Regions from separate parts of the Homo sapiens genome. Here all the other regions are linked to region 3. Evidence: promoter capture Hi-C in 16 types of primary human blood cells and fetal thymus (Javierre and others, 2016). All regions are on one chromosome and are shown on one strand. The core of a region is centred on a gene start or on the middle of the fragment in contact, and the rest is flanking DNA. Distances in the headings are between cores, read along the strand shown.

Region 1 (3,751 bases), core at 1,245-3,744, 380 kb before region 3:
ACTCGGGAGGCGGAGGTTGCAATGAGCTGGTATCACGCCACTGCATTCCTGAGTACATGCCTGAGCAACAGAGCGAGACTCTGTCTTAAAATAAATAAATTAATTAAATCAAATGAAACCAGATAAAGAAAGAAGATCCCCCCAAAAATTAGAGCAAATCAAATCCAGCAATATATACAAAGGATAATATGTTAGGACCAGCCAGAGATCACCCCAGGAATCCAGAGCTAGTTCAACATTCAAAACATCAATGGAATTCATATTTACAGCTTAATGAGGAAAAACAGTGTCATCTCAACAGAGGCAGGGGAAACAAGCTCCAAGAGTTTCTGTCATTGTTTTGATGAGCAGCCACGGAAAGCCTCAACCCTGCTCTGTCTTGGCTGATGCCAAAATTACTGAAGACAAAATGTACGGCCTTGAAAACACCACAGAGTAACTCATCTAATATAACGGCCTAATGTTTATTTCAACTAAAGTAATACAATCAAAAGATTTTTGGAAACGATTTTGGATAAAGGCAAACATTTTTCCCTGAAAGGCAGTCAAGATACCCCGCATCGGCCATCGGAGCTTTGCCTCCAGGGTCTTACTCGGGTGCCCATATTACACACAGGGACCTGTGTCCCCTGCCCCAGGTCTCTCAGCCTTCTGAATACAAGGGCTTTGCCTTCTTGAGGACCACCCTTAGGTGGGCTGCACTCGATACTTCATAAAGCTTTACACCCCTCATCTCATTCTGGTCTTCACCATAACCCCCTCACTGTCCCCATTCTTCTTGACACCAACACCAAGCTGGAGACATCATCACTCACCCGCTCTGGTGAGCAGGTGATTCGCTATGGAAAAGGGACCTGAGACCTGGGCATGTGCCCTTGCTCTGAGGACCTCAGTGTGCTCTGCCAGCCTGGGTGCCCGCACCCCTAGGCCCTACTGGAGTCATCTTCTGAATCCTGGAGGTGCCCCGGCCTGTGGACAGCAAGATGCAGACCCTGCTCTCATCCATCTGCCACCCCACTGCCTTCAGGCAGCTGCCCAGCTGAGGAGCAAGGCTCCAGAATCCTGACAGGGAGGGCAACAAGGAGCAAAAGGGCCTTAGTCAGTGGGGCTGCAGCGGGCACACTCCTCACCCTAACTCCTCAGCCCAATGGCTGATTCTTTGGGTTGTTTGTTTTTGTTTTGAGACAGAGTTTCGCTCTTCTAGCCCAGGCTGGAGTGCAATGGCGTGATATCAGCTCACTGCAACCTCCACCTACGGGGTTCAAGTGATTCTCCTGCCTCAGCCTCCCGAGTAGCTGGGATTACAGGCATGTGCCGCCACGCCTGGCTAACTTTTTATATTTTTAGTAGAGATGGGATTTCTCCATGTTGGTCAGGCTGGTCTCAAACTCCCGACCTCAGGTGATCCACCTGCTTTGGCCTCCCAGAGTGCTGGGATTACAGGCGTGAGCCACCGTGCCCAGCCCCAACAGCTGATTTTTTTTTTTTTTTTTTTAAAAACAAAAGCAAGATTCTGTACCTGCTGAAGCAGGCCCAGAAAAGAGCTGGTGGAGGGCATGGTACCCAGAGCAGCACTGTTTGGTATGACATGGCAGCCACTGGTCACAGGCAGTGCCACAAGCTTGGAATGCCACAGGACAAAATATGTCTGATATATATTTTGGTAACAATAAAATATATTGTCAAAATTATTTTTCTATTTCTTTGCTATTTTCCATTTCTTCTCACTAATTTAACATGGCTACTAGAAAGGTTTAAATTATGCATGTGGCACACGATGTTTCTACTGGACAGCACAGCAGCACAGGGCTAGCACCGGAGATCCTGCAGCTCAGACGCCCATGGGGTGAACAAAAACCTTGCAACTCTCCCAGGCCAGGGACTGACATATTTTAAAACCGGAGATTTTGATTGAGGAGGGAGTAGAGCTACCACATAAGCAAATATGTAATGTTGTATGTTGTATGTTTCTTTCTTTCTTTCTTTAAGAAAAATCCCTTGGCAACAGGAAGCTTAACTGCACCAACAAGGACAGCAGAAGAAAAGCAGAATGTTAGTCAACAAGGGTCACCCTGACCCGAACCCCAGCCCCAGCTCTCTCCAGCTGCACAGCCCTGGGGAGAAAGGAGAAAGAGCAGAGAAGCCCACCCCTCACACACCCGGTTAGTCTCCCCTGCCCACTGGCAGGCCCTGGGGCAGGCCCCTAGATGGGTCTGCAAAGGGACACTGCCCCCTTGCATTCTGCCCCCCCTTCTACATGGCTCCCCCACCCACCCTTCTACACGGTGGCTTCTGAGGGCAGCCCCTGGAGGTGATCATGACCCCCCATCTTGATCTGAGGATTAACAGATACAGGTTCACCTGGTGAAAATGCAGGAGCTGTAGGGGTAGGACCCATCACTCATCTGACTGCATGTTGTAATTCAATGGACAGTTTACTAAAGTAATAGTCTTCTTCCTGTCCTCTGCTGAGCACCCATCTGGCCAACGGTCCTGCGCTCCCTCAGGGCCAGCGGCCCATCTCCTCCTGTGCCTCCTGGAGGGCTTCGCAACTGCCTCCCTCCTCTGGGGAATCTTGCCCCACTGACTGACCTTTCGGCTCTCAGATCCCAGGTCCCTCCCTCGCAGATACGGCAACAGGCTCTCTTGGGATTTCAATCCCGCCTTCCCATCAGCTACTCTTCAAAACACTAACTGGTATTAGCTCCTTCAGAGAACTCTCTGGCTTTCCAGGCCTACAATCTCCCTCCCTAGAATGAAAGCTCAGTGACAGAAGTGCCCTTAAACTTCTGAGTGACACGAGGCCCTCAGCCGGCCCTGAATCAATACTGGCTGGATCAGTGAGTGAATAAATGCACATGTGAGTAAGGAATGAAGGGAGCGAAAGAACTGGATTAGAAGCTGCTTGGGGCAGAGATGTGCCTTACAGGCTTCATGAAGAGTGGGTGATGAAAAAGGTAAATGGAGCATCTAAGAGGAAGCTTTGATAGAAGGGAGAATGCAAGAGAGGTTGGAAATTGGAATCCATTGGAATTGGGAGCCTGGGGAGATGCCAGGACAGGCACTCTCTGGCCTAGGACTCTGCAGAGGGCAGCCTCAGCAGGCAAGCCAGGCCCCCAGCTTCTGGGGCCGGTCGCACCCATTATGGCCCCGAAACGGCTGGGTGGTGGTCTGCAGCCTGCCCAGGGCCGGCTGGGAGACAGGCAGGGTCCCCACCACTCTCTTGCCTCTGGGCAAAAGCTGGCCTCCTGACCCTGGGGGATGGACGGGAGCAGGGGCCACACAACACACTCCCAAACATATAATCGGCCTCCTTCACCCTCGCCCACGCTCAGTCACACACAGCCTCGGTCATACACACTCACACTCACTCTCCGGCACACTCTCAGAGCATCACATAATTTCAGTGAGACACAATCCCAAAGACTAACACGGACAACCTCTGAGTCTCACACAATCTCAGGGCCACACACAGGCACACAATCAGACGAGCTCAGGAACGCCCCCGTCTCTGACACACGCAATCTGAGGTTTACACGCGCGCGCACACGCACACACACAGACACCAGCCGGCGCTCCCGCACGCGGCTCCCCCACCCCCGCCACGCCACGCCCCCATTGCCTGGGAACTGGCGGCCCCGCCCCGCAGCGTTTGAGGCGCCGCAAGCCTTCACGCCCCTCGGGCCTTGCAGATCCCTCTCCCAGTTTCCGCGGCGGTCCGGTGCGGTCAGTACCTGTCTAAAATCAATAT
Region 2 (3,807 bases), core at 9-2,508, 500 kb before region 3:
CCACTCATGTCTTCTACTCACTAGCTAAGCTTGGGGTGGGTGTCCCCATTGCCCGGAAAATTACTACACAGCCCTCATATCAAACTTGTTTTGAGAAGCATAACCATAAACCCATCTTTGGCCTATGATCCTAGGGAGTCCTCATGCCAACAAGACCTTTTGGGGTCAGCCACGCATGTGAAGTTAGAATGCAGTTTAGGCTGTGCCATGAATCTGAACTAAATATGATTTTAGGGGTGAGGAAACTGGGACCTAGGGGCTTGGGGAACTGGCCCGAAGGTATGGAGAGTACCTGACCTTGTCGTTCTTCCAGGATATGATATTTACTCCTGGCACCAATCCCCTCTACCTTGTACTGAAAGCAAGGACAGCCTGCCTGCAACCACACATACAGGTGGCCATCCAGCAGGTGCATACTAAATGTGTGTTGAGTTGAATTATTAGACTCTTTCTAAGCAACCTTGCAGCATTGAAGGGACCGCAATCCCTTTGCCTCTGCGTCCTTAGGGCTAAACTCGAGGTCTCGATGTCTTGCACTGTGGGCTGGGCCGGGTTTGGTGCCTCACCCAGCAGGTAAGTGCTGTCTACGCCTCCCACAGGTCCAGTGGCTCCTCTCCAGACTTGGGTGCACTGGGCCAGGCTGCACCTTACTAATCTCAAGGCTTCCTGTGTTTGTGGCTTTGGGGCCCTCTTCATCGTGTGAATAGGAATAAGAAGATTGTTATTTCTGGCCGGGTGCAGTGGCTCACGCCTGTAATCCCAGCACTTTGGGAGGCCGAGACGGGCGGATCACCTGAGGTGGGGAGTTCGAGACCAGCCTGATCAACATGGAGAAACCCCGTCTCTACTAAAAATATAAAATTAGCCGGGCGTGGTGGTGCATGCCTGTAATCCCAGCTACTAGGGAGGCTGAGGCAGGAGAATCGCTTGAACCCGGGAGGCGGAGGTTGCGGTGAGCCGAGATCGCGCCACTGCACTCCAGCCTGGGCAACAAGAGCGAAATTCCGTCTCAAAAAAAAAAAAAAGATTGTTATTTCTGAAATAAACCCCTATTTCTCACTATTTAATAATTTAGCAATCTTGACTCACAATCCAAATCCAGGCACCCCAGACCCACCCACGGCCCGTTGCCTAGCAACAGCCTCCCCACCCCCGCCTCCGCGCCTTTTCCCGCCGACTGCCCAGTGCGCACGCTCAGAGCCTTCCTCCACACCCCGCCCCTGCAGGGCGCGCGGTGGTGACGTGTAGAGTGCGCGACGCTTTTGGCGACCCGACCTCTGGCTAACCTACCCCCGGAGCCATGGCCTCTGCTGGGGTGGCAGCCGGGCGACAGGCGGAGGATGTATTGCCGCCAACGTCCGACCAGCCGCTGCCTGACACCAAGCCGCTGCCGCCTCCTCAGCCGCCGCCGGTCCCTGCGCCTCAACCGCAGCAGTCGCCGGCGCCACGGCCTCAGTCACCTGCCCGCGCGAGGGAGGAAGAGAACTACTCCTTTTTACCTTTGGTTCACAACATCATCAAATGGTAAGAACCTAGGAGAGGACCAGGCCCCATACTCCCTCCAGCTTCTCCTCTCAGCCGTTTCAGAGCTGCAAGAGGCCTTGGCGCTCTGGGGCACGCCCCCGTTTCACAGATGGGGAAACTCAGACCCAGAGCGGGAAGAGGCCTTTCCCAAGACCACAGAGACATTCCATGAGTTAAGCAAACGATTTGAGCCTCGAGAGGTGCGATATCCTTAAGAATGAAGCCAGCTTAGAGACTAAATGCAGACTCTTGTCCAGCGGCTCAAATGTTCATCCCAGCGATCTTGAGCAAATTAAATCTCTTTAAGCCTCAGTTTTCTCACCTTTAATGTTGGTAATACTCACTTTAGTTCCTTAGTTCAGCAAACTCAACAGATAAGCATCATCTTCCCTGTGCCAAGTGCTACGGGATGGACGCAGTAAAAGGGGCCAACTTTTCACCCCCAAAGGTTTAGATAGAAGGAAAAAAAGACATGATTGGGAATAACCCACAATTCAAAAAGATTGAGACGGGAGTGGTGGCGATGGGAAACATTAGACTAAGCAGAAACACAGAAGTTGCCTCAGATGATTAGACCCACTTGTACTGACTTTGTTCTAACAGTACCAAAGGAAATAATTGTTGTCATCCTTTTGGCCAGCCTTCAGGGTAGCCTGAGTTTTCAAAGTGACTCTGTAGAGGAAAAACCAAAAACAAAAACACAAAAGTCTCACTGATCCTTATGTTTGCCTAAATTATTATTTTTTTTGAGAGAGGGTCTCGCTCTGTCACCCAGACTGGAGTACAGTGGCGTGATCTCGGCTCACTGCAGCCTCAACCTCCTGGCCTCAAGCCATCCTCCCACCTCATCCTCCCAAGTAACCGGAACCACAGGCATGAGCCATGGCACCCAGCGAATTTTTGTATTTTTTGTAGAGATGGAGTTTCACCATGTTGCCCAGGCTGTAAATTATTTTCATTATGTTACTTCACTGTATATCCACGTGATACTAGGTGTAAACCCCTAGGCTTGTAACTCTTACTCAACCATTAAAGACCAAAACAAAGTAAATTAAAAGAAAATTACGATTCCAGTAACATTCAGGTGAACATGAATGTGCTCTTCACTGTTTTACTGAAATGGAATTGTTACAACGTGAAGGTCTTGACTGTTAGTGGCCCACCCACTTTTGAGTTTAAGCAAATTAGATTCACTTGCTGTGGGATGACCTGATGCTCTTCTGCCACTTTTCAAATAACTACAAAGGCTTTGTTCTCACATTAGACCCTGGCTTCATTTGGTTTCACTTGGTGTTTAAATACTGTTTATAGGGGCCAGGCATGGTGTCTCATGCCTGTAATCCCAGCACTTTGGGAGGCCAAGGCGGGCGGATCACGAGGTCAGAGTTTGAGACCAGCCTCGTCGACATGGCAAAACCCCATCTCTACTAAAAACACAAAAATTAGCCGGGTGTGGTGGCGGCTGCCTGTAATCCCAGCTACTCAGGAGGCTGAGGCAGGAGAATCACTTGAACCCGGGAGGTGGAGGTTGCAGTGAGCCGAGATCATGCCATTGCACTCCAGCCTGGGCAACAAGAGCAAGACTCTGCCTCAAAAAAAAAAAAAAAGTAATGCTTATAGGATAAGGCAGCCTATTCAGTTTTCGTGAGCCTGTGATAATGATCATAGACAGAAATACATATGGAGCCCCTGTAATCCTAGGGCAGTGCTGGATTATAAAGGGTTTATTCTGATTAACCCTAGTTTACTGGTTTTAAGAAAAATGTGGAAAAATGAAAACACAAAATGTACACATTCACAAGGACAGCTCTTGAACTCCCCAAGAGTATATTCTTGAGCCCTGGTAGAGCAGCTGGGTTGGGTTGGCCTTAAAAGATGTAGTAGTAAGTTATACTAGAGAGAACAGGCTTTGAAGTTAGACAGCCCTGTGTTCAAATCTGTGTACTGACATTTTCTTGCCTTCTAATCTTGATATAAATGCCTAACCTTTCTAGGCCATAATCTTCTTATCTCTAATATGTCCATAGTGGACCTCAAAAGAGAGGTTCAGATTATGTCATAGCTCTATAATGTGCTGACTGGGTGACCTTGGCAAGTAGCTTAGCTTCTCTGAGCCTGTTTTTCTCTTGTGAAATGGGAATGCTTATGTCATAGGATTGTTGGGAGATGTACTCAGGAGTGTACCTGTGAAACATAGTGGGTTGATCACATGTGCTTGTCTCTGTTCCATCTAAAAGGACAGAGAAGGGAGTTTAAAAAAAAAAAAAAGCATAAAACCTTCAG
Region 3 (4,013 bases), core at 1,514-4,013:
GGTGAATCCTGGGGCCTGGTAGGGTATTTTCCTTCACAGGTCACAGACGGGCCAGTTGTTTCACATATCCTCTCCAGATAGAAAATCCAACCCTAACTTAAATATTCTGTTATTAACAGTGGCAGTTTCAATTTACTGAGCTTCTACTATGTTCCAGATACTATGCTAAGTGTTTTCATACATTATCTCATTTAAACTACATTACTCTGTGAATAGGAATCTTTCTCTCTCTCTCTCTCTCTCTCAGAAGACTGACAAACTAAACCTCAGAAAGCAACACAATTTTCTGGGGTCACACAGCCAAGAAATGGGGGCCAGGTCAAAATTCAACTTAGGTCTCCCTGACAGAAGTATCAAGCTCTTTCCACTTGCTATATATCCCTATATCTCTTATATTTGGTTTTTTGTTGTTGTTGTTGTTGTTTGTTTGTTTTTTGAGACAGAGTCTCACTCTGTCGCCCAGGCTGGAGTGCAGTGGCACAATCTCAGCTCACTGCAAACTCCGCCTCCCGGGTTCAAGCAATTCTCCTGCCTCAGCCTCCCGAGTAGCTGGGACTACAGGCGCATGCCACCACGCCTGGCTAATTTTCTTTTTTTTTTTGGATTTTTAGTAGAGACGGGGTTTCACCGTGTTAGCCAAGATGGTCTCGATCTCCTGACCTTGTGATCCGCCCGCCTCAACCTCCCAAAGTGCTGAGATTACAGGCGTGAGCCACCGCACCCAACCACATTTGTATTTTAAATCCCCTTTAACTTCTACCCCTCATTTACTACCTTGTCATTTTAAAGGTGTAGAGCTTCCTATTATAAAGGGGACAGAAAGGAAAACAATTCTCGCAAGTTTTCTGGCTCCCTCCATTAACTGGCTGGAAATTAGTTTTTGGAGTGTGGCTGCCATGCAAGAGCACCTGAAGAGAGTGGAAAAGGACATGGGGAAGAAGTAAGGAAGTGAGAATCCAGAGACTCTCCAGTGGGCAGCAAGAGACAAGATGTCAAAAAGGTGGGAAAACACTCTTTTGGGGTCCCTCATGCATTATAAAAGATACTACGCCAGAAAGTAAAGAAAGGCTCCTAAATGCTAATTAGCCAACAGGAGAGACCTCAATAAGTTTATAGGCTCCACTAAAGGCTGGAAAGTAAGCTAAAATTTCATAAGCAAAGCAGAAAATAAACAAATCACTACTGCTGAAATCAGGCCCATAAGAACACCAAAGATCCTGGCTCATAAAAGACGTTTTACCAGTCCTTCAACCAACCAGGAGGAATCCAGTTTTCAAACAAACTAATCAGCATTCTTGACTGATCAAGTGGCATAAGCCACTGCCTTGGGTAAAAAGGCAAGTTGCTTTCTTAGTAAGGAAGTCCCATATGGTGGCCATTTCAGTATTCCTTTACCTACACTTTGGGCTTTCCTTATCCATGATTCTGGCCATCTCTGGTGTCCCCAGGTGTCCACATCCCCCCTATAGGATTAACAGATAATGCTGAGTACCATTCTCTCTACATTGCCAACAAAAGATTTCAGCTTTGGTAAACTTAATATGAGGTGGGGGAGGAAGCAACAGTCAATGTGCAGAGTACTACAAAGAATATCAAAACTTGAGAACTTTAAGGGATCTATCACATCTCATCTCCAAACACTTTGACAGACAGGGGAACTTCAAACCAGAAAGGGCACAAGGTCATATGGAGTCACTGACAAAACCACTGCTAGAGTCCAGGCTTCCATGATTCCCAGTCCAGGGCTCTTATCATTAAATAACACAGCCTCCCTTCTTTCCTGGGAGGCACTGCAGGCATGCCATCCCCCTGCCAAGATAATCACCCTCCAAGAGCCCCTCCTCCTATCCCAGTCCCTCCTACAGCACAGCTGAGTTGCAGCTCAAATTAGCAAGTCCCGGAGCAGGGGGCATTTCTGGGAGGGTGCCCAGTCTGAGGGTTGCTGGTACCGAAGAGGAGGGACAAAGATGGAGAAGAAGGTGACATCCCACAAAGGGTTTGGGAGAACTGGGTCCTTGGGGCAGTGGCAGTGAGCCTGCTGGGCTGGATAAAGACACATGCAGTGGCATCTCCCAAAGCGCATTGGGGAAGCAGACCAGCAGTTGGCACCACCTCTAGCAGCAAAAGGAAGGGCTGAGCCTTGATGGGCAGGGAAGCCTGGGGCATCTCCGAGTCCAAGTTGGGCCTCAGGGGTGCCTCCTGGCAGAGTGGCACTGGCGCGCCCGTGAGGTGGCACCAGTGCCCGGGAGGAGGCCCGAGGACACAGATGCCCTGCCTGCCCGTGGGATAGCACCGGCACCCGGCGAAGGCCCAGCCCCCCCGGGAGGTGGCACCGGCGCCCGGCGAACGCCCGACGACCAGGATGCCCAACCCGCCCGTGAGGTGGCACCGACGCCCAGTGAAGGCCAGACGACCAGGATGCCCAGCCCGCCCGTGAGGTGGCACAAGCGCCCGGCAAAGGCCCGACGACCAGGATGCCCAGCCCGCTCGTGGAGTGGCACCCGCGGCTGGCGGAGGCCCAGCCCGCTCGTGAAGTGGCACCGGCGCCCGGCGGAGGCCCGCGGTCCTCACCAGCCGGATCAGCGGCCGCCGTTGCCCAGCCTCCTGCCCCACACGCGGCCTTACCGAGGCACTGCCCCACTGGTGTGCTGAACGGGTTCCCCAGGAGGAACTCCATCTTGGGTGGACAACACGCAGCGGCCCGGGCCCCCTGTCTGCCACCTAGGCCTCCGCTGTAACCCGCCGGACTCCCGTCCTGACTGACACTTGCCCCCTCCCCACTCTCTGGAACGCCGAGCTTAGGGCCTTTGGCCCCGCCCCCTTGCCGCGTCTCTATTGGGGGACACCTACGAAGCCCGCCTCCTATTGGTCGTTACACCTCTGTCAGCAAAGCCCCCACCCACCCCGCAGCGTCCGATTGGGCGGAGGAGCGAGCTAGGTCACCGGAGTCCCTGTCAGCCGTGGCGGCACCTCCCCTGGCCCGCCCCCAAAGGGGAAGCTGCGCATTTTGATTCCTCTGTATATTGGTCAATCTAAAGGATTCTTACTATTATTGGACAAAAGACGAGTCAATCACGCAAATGGACGGAACAGAGGTGAATCTAGGAATATCCCCGCCCATAGAAAGTACTGATTGGAGAAACATTTGTTTTCTCTACGGCTGGTTGGTGTAAGGAGTGTTTCACCACACGGAGATGTGGTCACGTGACTTGTCAACTTTCACCCAGGATGTCTCCCTTCTGACTTCCCCTTAGCAACCAAGTCGCGGCGCTTGGTTCCCCAGCAACCGGGAGACGCGTCTGCTGCGTGGAACCGCCGAGTTCCCAGCGCTTGAGAAGGTGAGACCTGGGAGCTGAGGCTCCCGGAGGACTTGCAGGGACAGATAGTGCCCGACGTAACTCTTTCCTGTGACCTTTTTCTCGGAGAACGCCGGCCCGGCCCTTCTCATTTATAAAATGAGCACGTAGGTCCTCTCCCAGCCACTTTACAGTCGTGTGAGACAGCCAAGACACTTTAGTCCTGGGCTTGTCAAGCTTTTGAATAAAAAAAAAAAAAAATACTAAGGAAGCATTTCCCGAGGGAGCAGGGCCAGAATGGATTTTTAAGGGGTTCCGTCTTCCAGCCTCCTTTCATAGAAAGAGAGGTACCCGGTCCACTGATAACTTTTCCCAGAATTTAGCCATCATAACTGACCTCATAACTATCAAATGATTTCATCTTGGTACTGTATATACCGCTTTGGATGTGAATACGGCTACTCAAGTTCTGTATCCGTCTCTGTCAGTAACTCATTGTACGACTTTGGACAAGTTCCTTTACCTCCCTGGAGCCTCAGGTTCCCTAGCTGGGAAATAAGGGCATTAGGACTCCCTTTTTATGGCCTCCGGAGCTTACATGTACTTAAATAATGCATGTGCACTGAGCACACAGTAAGCATTCAGTAAGTGATTGATTTTATTCTTTTTTAAGAAAAATTTTGTTCATTATTTATTTATTTATTTATTTTTTATTTT

What was found. Contacts are between HindIII fragments. The CHiCAGO score rates a contact against its expected background, and 5 or more counts as called.
Region 1: a fragment that was not itself captured here is called in contact with the fragment with the promoter of TOM1L2 in region 3 in 1 of 17 cell types (fetal thymus); the score reaches 5.1 in fetal thymus.
Region 2: a contact is called between the fragment with the promoter of MED9 here and the fragment with the promoter of TOM1L2 in region 3, in 12 of 17 cell types (non-activated CD4 T cells, total B cells, naive CD8 T cells and 9 more). The highest score is 10.9, in non-activated CD4 T cells.

The regions. Positions count from the first base shown.
Region 1 is chr17:17,587,797-17,591,547 of GRCh38, forward strand. PEMT (phosphatidylethanolamine N-methyltransferase) reads right to left here. Exons shown (of 7, transcript NM_148172.3): 1 at 3,735-3,751. Among named protein-coding and RNA genes, the nearest start is that of PEMT, 2.0 kb to the right of the region's middle. RefSeq lists enhancers at 3,357-3,751, 3,664-3,751. The HindIII fragment of the contact is 969 bases long and covers 2,011-2,979 here.
Region 2 is chr17:17,475,742-17,479,548 of GRCh38, forward strand. MED9 (mediator complex subunit 9) reads left to right here and starts at 1,259. Exons shown (of 2, transcript NM_018019.3): 1 at 1,259-1,524. The coding sequence starts at 1,301. RefSeq lists an enhancer at 1,263-1,362. The HindIII fragment of the contact is 9,122 bases long and covers 28-3,807 here.
Region 3 is chr17:17,969,637-17,973,649 of GRCh38, forward strand. It overlaps TOM1L2 (target of myb1 like 2 membrane trafficking protein), which reads right to left and starts at 2,764. Exons shown (of 15, transcript NM_001082968.2): 1 at 2,626-2,764. The coding sequence starts at 2,677. DRC3 (dynein regulatory complex subunit 3) reads left to right here and starts at 3,226. Exons shown (of 14, transcript NM_031294.4): 1 at 3,226-3,338. RefSeq lists enhancers at 2,257-2,826, 3,198-3,517 and a silencer at 2,468-2,517. The HindIII fragment of the contact is 5,656 bases long and covers 1-3,531 here.